Linked DNA regions of Homo sapiens: region 2 is linked to region 1. The links are contacts of gene promoters, found by promoter capture Hi-C in human tissues and cell types (Jung and others, 2019). All regions are on one chromosome and are shown on one strand. The core of a region is centred on a gene start or on the middle of the fragment in contact, and the rest is flanking DNA. Distances in the headings are between cores, read along the strand shown. Region 1 holds the start of CDC42BPA (CDC42 binding protein kinase alpha). Region 2 overlaps CDC42BPA (CDC42 binding protein kinase alpha).

What was found. Contacts are between HindIII fragments. The study calls those that stand out against the background at their distance.
Region 2: a contact is called between a fragment that was not itself captured here and the fragment with the promoter of CDC42BPA in region 1, in 1 of the 25 tissues and cell types used here (dorsolateral prefrontal cortex).

The regions. Positions count from the first base shown.
Region 1 is chr1:227,315,841-227,320,393 of GRCh38, reverse strand. It overlaps CDC42BPA (CDC42 binding protein kinase alpha), which reads left to right and starts at 1,902. Exons shown (of 37, transcript NM_001394014.1): 1 at 1,902-3,389. The coding sequence starts at 3,212. It overlaps LOC124904531 (a long non-coding RNA gene), which reads right to left and starts at 1,802. Exons shown (of 2, transcript XR_007066911.1): 1 at 1,396-1,802; 2 at 333-1,280. The HindIII fragment of the contact is 8,280 bases long and covers 1-4,553 here.
Region 2 is chr1:226,994,406-226,998,958 of GRCh38, reverse strand. It overlaps CDC42BPA (CDC42 binding protein kinase alpha), which reads left to right. Exons shown (of 37, transcript NM_001394014.1): 36 at 3,979-4,136. Among named protein-coding and RNA genes, the nearest start is that of COQ8A, 56 kb to the right of the region's middle. RefSeq lists a silencer at 4,144-4,290. The HindIII fragment of the contact is 5,082 bases long and covers 1-4,553 here.

The DNA.
Region 1 (4,553 bases), core at 653-3,152:
CTGACAGCTTGACTCTTTTGTTAAAAAAAAAAAAAGTATCTACATCTCATATACTTCCATTGTCAATTAGCATTTAGTGAGACCTAACATGTTTTAGGTTCTCCTTTAAACTTCTTTCTAGTTATTTGTAAGTTGGAAAAGCAGGTATCTTGGAGCCATTTCTTTAGTTAACCGTACTTGAAAAAGCAGAAGAAATTGCTTCCTTCTTTGCTACCGCATCTTATGGTCAAATGAAACTGTTAAAATTGGCTTCACCATTAAAATCCATGTTGTTGAAGAATGTTTGTTGAACTGAAAAAATGTCCATAATATATTGCTAATTGCAAGCAAGAGGCTATAAAACTCTTTTATTATGTATCATTTTTGTTAAAGTGCATAGGAAAAAGACTTGAATAATAAACACCAAAATATTGCTTATTATCTGTGTTAGGATTAAACTTTTCTACTACTTTTAGAATTAGACAACACACACCCATATAAAGATGTCATGGCTGGAAATGACTGACCTTTTGTTTGAATCTAAGTATCATTCATGTCAAGACCGCATTGAAAATAATGCTGTTCTTAAGCCAGGCAAGTGTAGACGTTGTAGATTTCATAAAAGATTCACACTATTTCATGAATCACAACTTGAATCGACTTCTGTTAGCCTTCATTTTACGTCTAGGCCCTCATTTCTAATTCTTCCTCAGCTTCCATATTATCAAGATGTAAGATGCAATTGTGGACATGAACATAGAAACACAACCGCCTCACAGGTGTGGGGAAGGAATATAAAATAATTGTATTTTAGAGAACGACCATAAAGGAGATGGCAATTTTGAGAGAAAGTAACAGAACTGCAATGACCTAGTTTTGTGGTGTTAATTTAAATGTGGCATCTTCCATGAGAATTTTATAAAGGGAGCTCTCCTAAAACCGAGATTCACAAAAACCTGGAAGGGCCCTACAGGGATCAGGTGCCCTAGCTATTCAGCGATTTGCCTTTGCTTCCCTAATTCCTGCATTGTGCCACTGGGTTACAAGTGTGTGTGCGCATGCACACAGGGGTGTAGGTTTGATGACAGTGGTGAACTGCCTTGACTGCCTTCACAGGCTGAATCCCCCGCAGGCAGTAACCATGGCTAGGGAAAAACAGGCAGCCGCGAGGACAGTTCCGGAGGAGACAACACCAGGCTCCCGTAGGGAAACTTTTGGGAATGGAGATGGGGGATTCCATCCTTTGCGTGCAGACCCAAGACTTCGATGGTAGCTCGGACAAGTCTGTCATTGTTTTTGTCCTGGGAAATGACACACGAAGTGCTGTAATTAGACACCTAAGAAACGATTACTCTGGAGTGTGCGCGAACCGAATCTGGGGGGCCGGTGGGGAGCAGGTAAGGGGCTGAAAGGCACCGTCTCCTCCAGCTCTGTCGGAAGCCTAAAGCCCTCTGCTTCTGGGCGCCCTTAACAAACGCGCCAGACAGGTGATGTCTCCGAGGACGAGCAGGAGCCCCCCTTCGCGATCTGCACCAGAAGCCTCGGGGAGCCGGGGCCACGGCGCGGCGGTGGCGCAGTTCCCAGCCTGCGCCCAGTCCCGCCGCAGCTCCCGGCGCGGCCCGGTCATCCCGCCTCCATATGCTCCGCCACCGCCGCCCGGGCCTCCCTCAGCCCTCCCGCAGCTCCGCATTCCACGCTGCGGCAGCCGCAGCCTCGCCGCCTAGGCAGTCCACACCCCTCCCCTCGGGCTGGCGCAGCCACTCGGGCCCCGAGCCCGCGCCCCCTTGGGGGCCTCCGCTGGGCGCGCCGGCCGGACCCCGCCCGGCTTGGCCGCCGGCTGGGGCTGAGGCTCGGGCAGGGCGGGGGCGGGGAGTGGAGGGCGTGTGCGCGCGCGTGTGCCGGGGCCGGGGGGCCAGGCCGCCATATTGGATCCAGACTCGTCCGCAAGCCTCCGCCTCTGTGCGGCGGGACTGGAGGAGCCTCGCTGAGCCCAGGGCGCGAGCGCGAGAGGAGAGGGAAGGCGGGGGAGGGCTGGAAGGGAGAGGAAGGGAGTGGTTGGGAGCCGGGCTGCCGCAGCCTCTAGTCTCCTCAGCCGCGGAAGCGACCCCTCCTCCTGCGCCGGGCCGCCTCCCTCCTCGCTGTGGAAAGATGCCCTTAGCCCAGGGGTGTGAAGAAGGGGGAGAAGTAGCTGCCAGAGCCGCCCGCGCCGCCGCCGCAGCTGCTGCTGCTTGTGTCCTTTGAATTCAGAGAAGCACCCCCCCGCCTGGGGCGTCGGGAGCCTCCGGCGCGGCGGCCCGGTGCGGGTGTCGGGGAGACCGGGCTCTCTGCCCGGCGCGGCGCGGCGCGGCTCGGCCCACGAGCGACCACCGACATGGAGTGGGCTCGGGCGGCCAAGTAGCCGCTTCTCCGGAGCCCGGTGCCAGTGCCGCCCGCAGCCCGCCTTCCACCCCCGGCCGCGCCGCCGGTCAGGCCCTAGGGTGAAGCCGGGAGGAAAATGAAGAGTTTTCACCGGAATCCGTTGAAAATAGGACTGACTGCAAAGCCTTAAAGAAAGAAGGACCTCGGGAGGAGAAACGAAAAGCCGCCTCCGGGCAAGACTTGGCGTGCTCCGAGCCGAGGGGCTGCTTCAGGGACCTCGCCCCCTCCCTTTCCCGCTGGAGAAATTGCCGCTGATGCATTATCCAAGTGGTGGTTGGGAGGATTTGCAGCAACATTTTTGGTTTTCCCTCCCCCTTCTATGCATTCTGTTTTTTTCCTCCCTTTTCTGTTTTTCTTCTTCCCGGGAAGTGAATTGCTGATGCAAATCGGACTTTATTCATTAATGATGCAACCGGATTCGTTTCAGGATTACGTTGCACGAGTTGAATTTTGAATGAAGGAGAAGAGTTTTTTTTTTTTTTTTTAAAGAAGTGTTGACTCTCTAGTTCGTTGTACTTTTAATTATTATTTTATTTAAATATACGACTTAATTGTATTCTTTTAAAAATGCATTAAGTATATATTTTATGGTAATTTACCCTCAAAATATATGTATATGGGTGAAATTGAAGACGCTTCAGTTAAGTGAGGTTACTGGTGTGTTGGATGTTTAATTCAGCACCAGCATTGCATGACAGTTGTTTGAATAACAAGTGGTTTATTTTTAAAACCATACCTTTTAAAATTTAGGTTCAGATAATAGTAAAAGTCATCATAATAATTTAAAGGAAAACCAGCAGAAATCGAAGCAAACATGTCTGGAGAAGTGCGTTTGAGGCAGTTGGAGCAGTTTATTTTGGACGGGCCCGCTCAGACCAATGGGCAGTGCTTCAGTGTGGAGACATTACTGGATATACTCATCTGCCTTTATGATGAATGCAATAATTCTCCATTGAGAAGAGAGAAGAACATTCTCGAATACCTAGAATGGGGTAAGTTTGTAATTTTTAAAGAAACTGTTAATCTTTAGCTGGTCATTATGATTTAATTGGTATAGAGAGTTATGAGTAAACTCTACTCCGTTCAAAGAAAAAATACAATAAAAAAACAGACACTAGTTATTCAAGATTTTCCGCTAGTTTTTGGTAAATATTTTCCCAGGAGTAGAATTGTGCTGCTCAATTGTTGCCTTGATTTAAGGCCTAGCTAATGTGGAACTTGGCTATGAAGAACTTATGTTTTTAGGTCAACAGTAAGAGATTTTAAATCAATTCTGTGATGGGCAAAAGTGGATTATTGGTTACAGTTGCCTAATACATGGCACTATAATAGTCCTTCATTTGAAAGGTATTTATTGGTGGAAACATTCAGACTATGGAAATTATTCTCAAAATAGGAGGAGATATTAAAATATCTGTGTTTGCCTTAGGTCAACAGAAAGCTGAAGGTGGTGATCAGTGGGTTTTATTTCATCTCTACATAGTACAAGGAAAGGAAACTGCTAAACATGGACTTTCCAAAAATTATGTTTGTAAGATTAAATGACATAGTTTAAAAATCTTGTGATAGTAGTTAGAGAATGTTTGGGGGCAGCTTCCACTTGAGAGTTAGATTTTACTCGAAAGTTAATTTAAATCTAAACTGGTTAGGTTTTTGGCTTCATTCTTCTAAATATAGATGTGATTTAGAAGACCTACTGTAGTGGAATAGATCAATGATGTGAGCAAACGCTCCATGACCTTCAAGCTTGAAGGCTTGGCTCAAGTTCTTCAGCGTCTGCTGTTACATACAGGGCACATTCTAAGGTCCAGAAGTTCACTGTTGCAATAAGCACGCATCGTCACCCAGATCTGTCTGTAGTAGTGGTACGTTGGCTTTTGAAGGATTTTGGCCAAATATGATTTTGTACCTTTGGAATACTAATCATTTTAGTTTGTTCTTATGCTAAGTTCTTATGCTAAAATATCTGTTCCCAAGTAAAACTTTATTTTCCTGAAGTAAAAGTCAAGTGCTGATTGTGTCTTTTTTTTTTTTTTTTTTTGGATTTGAAATTTATTCAAAGTTAGTTTCTCAGGTAAACCACTGATACAAGAATGTCTACACGTAATAACTTTAATTATTCAATTTGCCAGTATAAGAAGGTTTCTAGCAATGTG
Region 2 (4,553 bases), core at 1,044-3,543, 320 kb after region 1:
GTTTTTTTTCTTGTAAATTTGTTTAAGTTCCTTGTAGATTCTGGATATTAGCCCTTTGTCAGATGGATAGATGGCAAAACTTTTCTCCCATTCTGTAGGTTGCCTGTTCTCTCTGATGGTAGTTTCTTTTGCTGTGCAGAAGCTCTTTAGTTTAATTAGATCCCATTTGCCAATTTTGGCTTTTGTTGCCATTGCTTTTGGTGTTGTAGTCATGAAGTCCTTGCCCATGCCTGTGTCCTCGATGGTATTGCCTAGGTTTTCTTCTAGGATTTTTATGGTTTTAGATCTTATGTTTAAATCTTTAATCCATCTTGAGTTAATTTTTGCATAAGGTGTAAGGAAGGGGTCCAATTTCAGTTTTCTGCATATGGCTAGCCAGTTTTCCCAACACCATTTATTAAATAGGGAATCCTTTCCCCGTTGCTTGTTTTTGTCAGGTTTGTCAAAGATCAGATGGTTGTAGATACGTGGCATTACTTCTGAGGCCTCTATTGTGTTCCATTGGTCTATATCTCTGTTTTGGTACCAGTACCTTGTTGTTTTGGTTACTGTAGCCTTGTAGTATAGTTTGAAATCAGGTAGTATCATGCCTCCAGCTTTGTTCTTTTTGCTTAGGATTGTCTTGGCTATACAGGCTATTTTTTGGTTCCATATGAAATTTAAAGTAGTTTTTTCTAATTCTGTGAAGAAAATCATTGGTAGCTTGATGGGGATAACATTAAATCTATAAATTACTTTGGGCATTATGGCCATTTTCATGATATTGATTCTTCCTATCCATAAGCATGGAATGTTTTTCCATTTGTTTGTGTCCTCTCTTGTTTCCTTGACCAGTGGTTTGTAGTTTTCCTTGAAGAGGTCCTTCACATCCCTTGTAAGTTGGATTCCTAGGTATTTTATTCTGTTTGTAGCAATTGTAATGGGAGTTCACTCATGATTTGGCTCTCTATTATTGGTGTGTAGGAATGCTTGTGATTTTTGCACACTGGTTCAAGCGGACCTAATACACACCTACAGAACTCTCCACCCCAAATCCACGGAATATACATTCTTCTCAGCACCACATCACACTTATTCTAAAACTGACCACATAATTGGAAGTAAAACACTCCTCACCAAATGCAAAGGAATGGAAATTATAAGTCTCTCAGACCACAGTGCAATCAAATTAGAACTCAGGATTAAGAAACTCACTCAAAACCGCACAACTACTTGGAAACTGAACAACCTGCTCTTGAATGACTACTGGGTAAATAACGAAATGAAGGCAGAAATAAATAAGTTCTTTAAGACCAATGAGAACAAAGACACAACATACCAGAATCTCTTGAGACACAGCTAAAGCAATGTTTAGAGGGAAATTTATAGCACTAAATGCCCACAGGAGAAAGCGGGAAAGATCTAAAATCGACACCCTAACATCACAATTAAAAGAACTAGAGAAGCAAGAGCAAACACATTCAAAAGCTAGCATAAGACAAGAAATAACTAAGATCAGAGCAGAACTGAAGGAGATAGAGACACGAAAAACCCTTCAAAAAATCAGTGATTCCAGGAGCTGGTTTTTTGAAAAGATTAACAAAATAGGCCGCTAGCCAGACTAATAAGAAAAGAGAGAAGAATCAAATAGACATAATAAAAAAATGATAAAGGGGAGATCACCACTGATCCCACAGAAATAGAAACTACCATCAAAGAATACTATAAACACCTCTACAGAAATAAAATAGAAAATCTAGAAGAAATGGATAAATTCCTGGACACATACACCTTCCCAAGTCTAAACCAGGAAGAAGTTGAATCCCTGAATATACCAATAACAAGTTCTGAAATTGAGGCAGTAATTAATAGCCTACCAGCTAAAAAAAGGCAGGACCAGGCAGATTCACAGCCGAATTCTACCAGAGGTACAAAGAGGAGCTGATACCATTCCTTCTGAAACTATTCCAAACAATAGAAAAAGAGGGACTCCTCCCTAACTCATTTTATGAGGCCAGCATCATCCTGATACCAAAACCTAGCAAAGACACAGCAAAAAAAGAAAATTTCAAGCCAATATCCCTGATGAACATTGATGCGAAAATCCTCAATTAAATACTAGCAAACATTCCAGCAGCACATCAAAAAGCTTATCCACCACGATCAAGTCGGCTTCATCCCTGAGATGCAAGACTGGTTCCACATACGCAAGTCAATAAACGTAATCCATCACATAAACAGAACCAGTGACAAAAACCACATGATTATCTCAATAGATGCAGAAAAGGCCTTTGATAAAATTCAACACCTTTATACTAAAAACTCAATAAACTAGGTATTGATGGAACGTATCTCAAAATAATAGCTATTTATGACAAACCCACAGCCAATATCATACCGAATGGGCAAAAGCTGGAAGCATTCCCTTTGAAAACTGCAACCAGACAAGGATGCCCTCTCTCACCACTCCTATTCAACATAGTATTGGAAGTTCTGGCCAGGGCAACCAGACAAGAGAAGGAAATAAAGGGTATTCAGATAGGAAGAGAGGAAGTCAAATTGTCTCTGTCTGCAGGTGACATGATTGTATTAGAAAACCCCTTCATCTCAGTCCAAAATCTCCTTAAGCTGACAAGCAACTTCAGCAAAGTCTCAGGTTACAAAATCAATGTGCAAAAATGACAGGAGGACTTTTAAAGTTAAGTCAGAAACTCTGCAAATTGTTCTGGGATAGGGCTGGGCATTGGTGTTTGTCAAGCTCCATCATACGCTAAACAGTAAACCACCAGTGTTGCTGATCTGCAGTCAGTCAGTTCCAGTGTCGAGGAAATGCCAGCGAGCCTGTGACTGCAGCCCAGGGGCTTCGCAAAGAAGCTGAGGAAGGGAGGTGGAAGGGGGATTACCAAGGACAGAGTCTGCCCAGGCAGGCTCTTGTTCAGTTTATTTATGAACGCTTGTGTATTTTGGTGGTCATTAGATAAATGTGCTGCTTTAAACTATCATTTTTTGACATTTTTCACTGAATTCTTAATGTGAAAAACAATTGAGACATGTTAAACCCGCAAAAAGTTGAAACAAGCACAACCTGTACCTTAGAGTTGTGCTAAAACCTCAACACAGTCTTTTGGACCAATCATCCTAATACTGAAACTCAGCACGATGAAGGCATGTTTAAGCAAAAACCTTGTCATAGTAGGGAATGCTAAGAGCTTTAAATAGGTACTGACAATAGCCCCGAGATTCCCCAGGGTGTTCTGGGTCTTCCCTTTTCTTCCTGTGAATGCTGCTGGTCCACTGTTACCTACCCCAACTCTGAGAACAAAATAGAGAGTGAGTTTGAAGAAAACCTCACTTTTATTTTACATCTCAGGCTCTTTGCCCTGTGAAGTAAAAGTACTTTTATGTTTTCTTTATGGTTTTATGAAAATTTTCTAGAAGATAAGCGATATTTCTTCATTGAGTGGCATGGCCTCTCTCGGGATGGTACAACCGAGCTTCCTCATTTAGCGCATCTGTTTTGAGCCTGCCGTGTGCCATGTTCTGTGCTAGGCCCTGGAGAGGCAAAGACACCTCATCTATTGGGAGAATGACAGGCACATGATGATAACATGACTTCATAAATGCCATGAAAGAGATGTGTGAAAGATGGCTGGGAGCCGTCAGTGGCTGGGAAAGATGTGCAAGGCAGCACCAGGCAGGTGGAGACTTGAGGGATTCTGGGGAATTGTTAACAAGCAGGGCATTGGGGCAGATGGCACAGCCTAGAGAGTGCTCGCTCACCGGGAGTCCCCGTGGCTGGGGTGGACAGGAACAGCGAGTGAGATTGCTGGATTCGGGGTTGAGCTCAGGGCAAAGGTACTACAGTTGGACTTACTGCGCTTCAGGGGAGGAGTGGTCTGGGGCCTGCAAAGGATGGCCTGTCAGCTCAGCAGTCTGTGTGCTTTCTAGAGTATTGTCCCCTCTGCATATGTAAAATTTTGCCTGCATGATGTACTGTAGGGTCATCCGCACAGAATGGCAGCGCATTAAAGAGGGAATTCTCTGGAGGAAGCTACAGTGCCAAGCGGCAGCCCATGCCCTCCCCGTCAGAGGGCTCTTTGTCCTCTGGAGGCATGGACCAAGGAAGTGATGCCCCAGCGAGGGACTTTGACGGAGAGGTGAGTGGGCAGGGTTCCGGAGACGTCATGTATCAGAAAGACTAGGGCATCTTCCCAGGCAATCCCACCACCTTGGGATTGGCCTCAGCTGCAGCAGGGTTCGGGGTCAGGGGCCAGCATTCACTCTTGGCCAGCGGGCAGCTAGGCCAGTCACTCGGGCTGCAAACTGCAGTTTTCCCAGAGGCATTCAGACTTCTGGCTTTTGTGTGAAAATACCATCATCTGTAAAGGCCTACAGAAAGGACGGAGCTTGTATGTTCCGTGCCTCTTCCTCAGCTCATAGAAGGGGCTTTATACCGACAGTGAGGCCGCCCCATGGGGTTATTTGGTCAGGGTGGCTGGAGGGGGCGGTGGTAATCTGAGCCCCTTCTGCCTCCCTTTCTCCCCCTCCTTCTCATTAATGTTTTACTTTGGGCC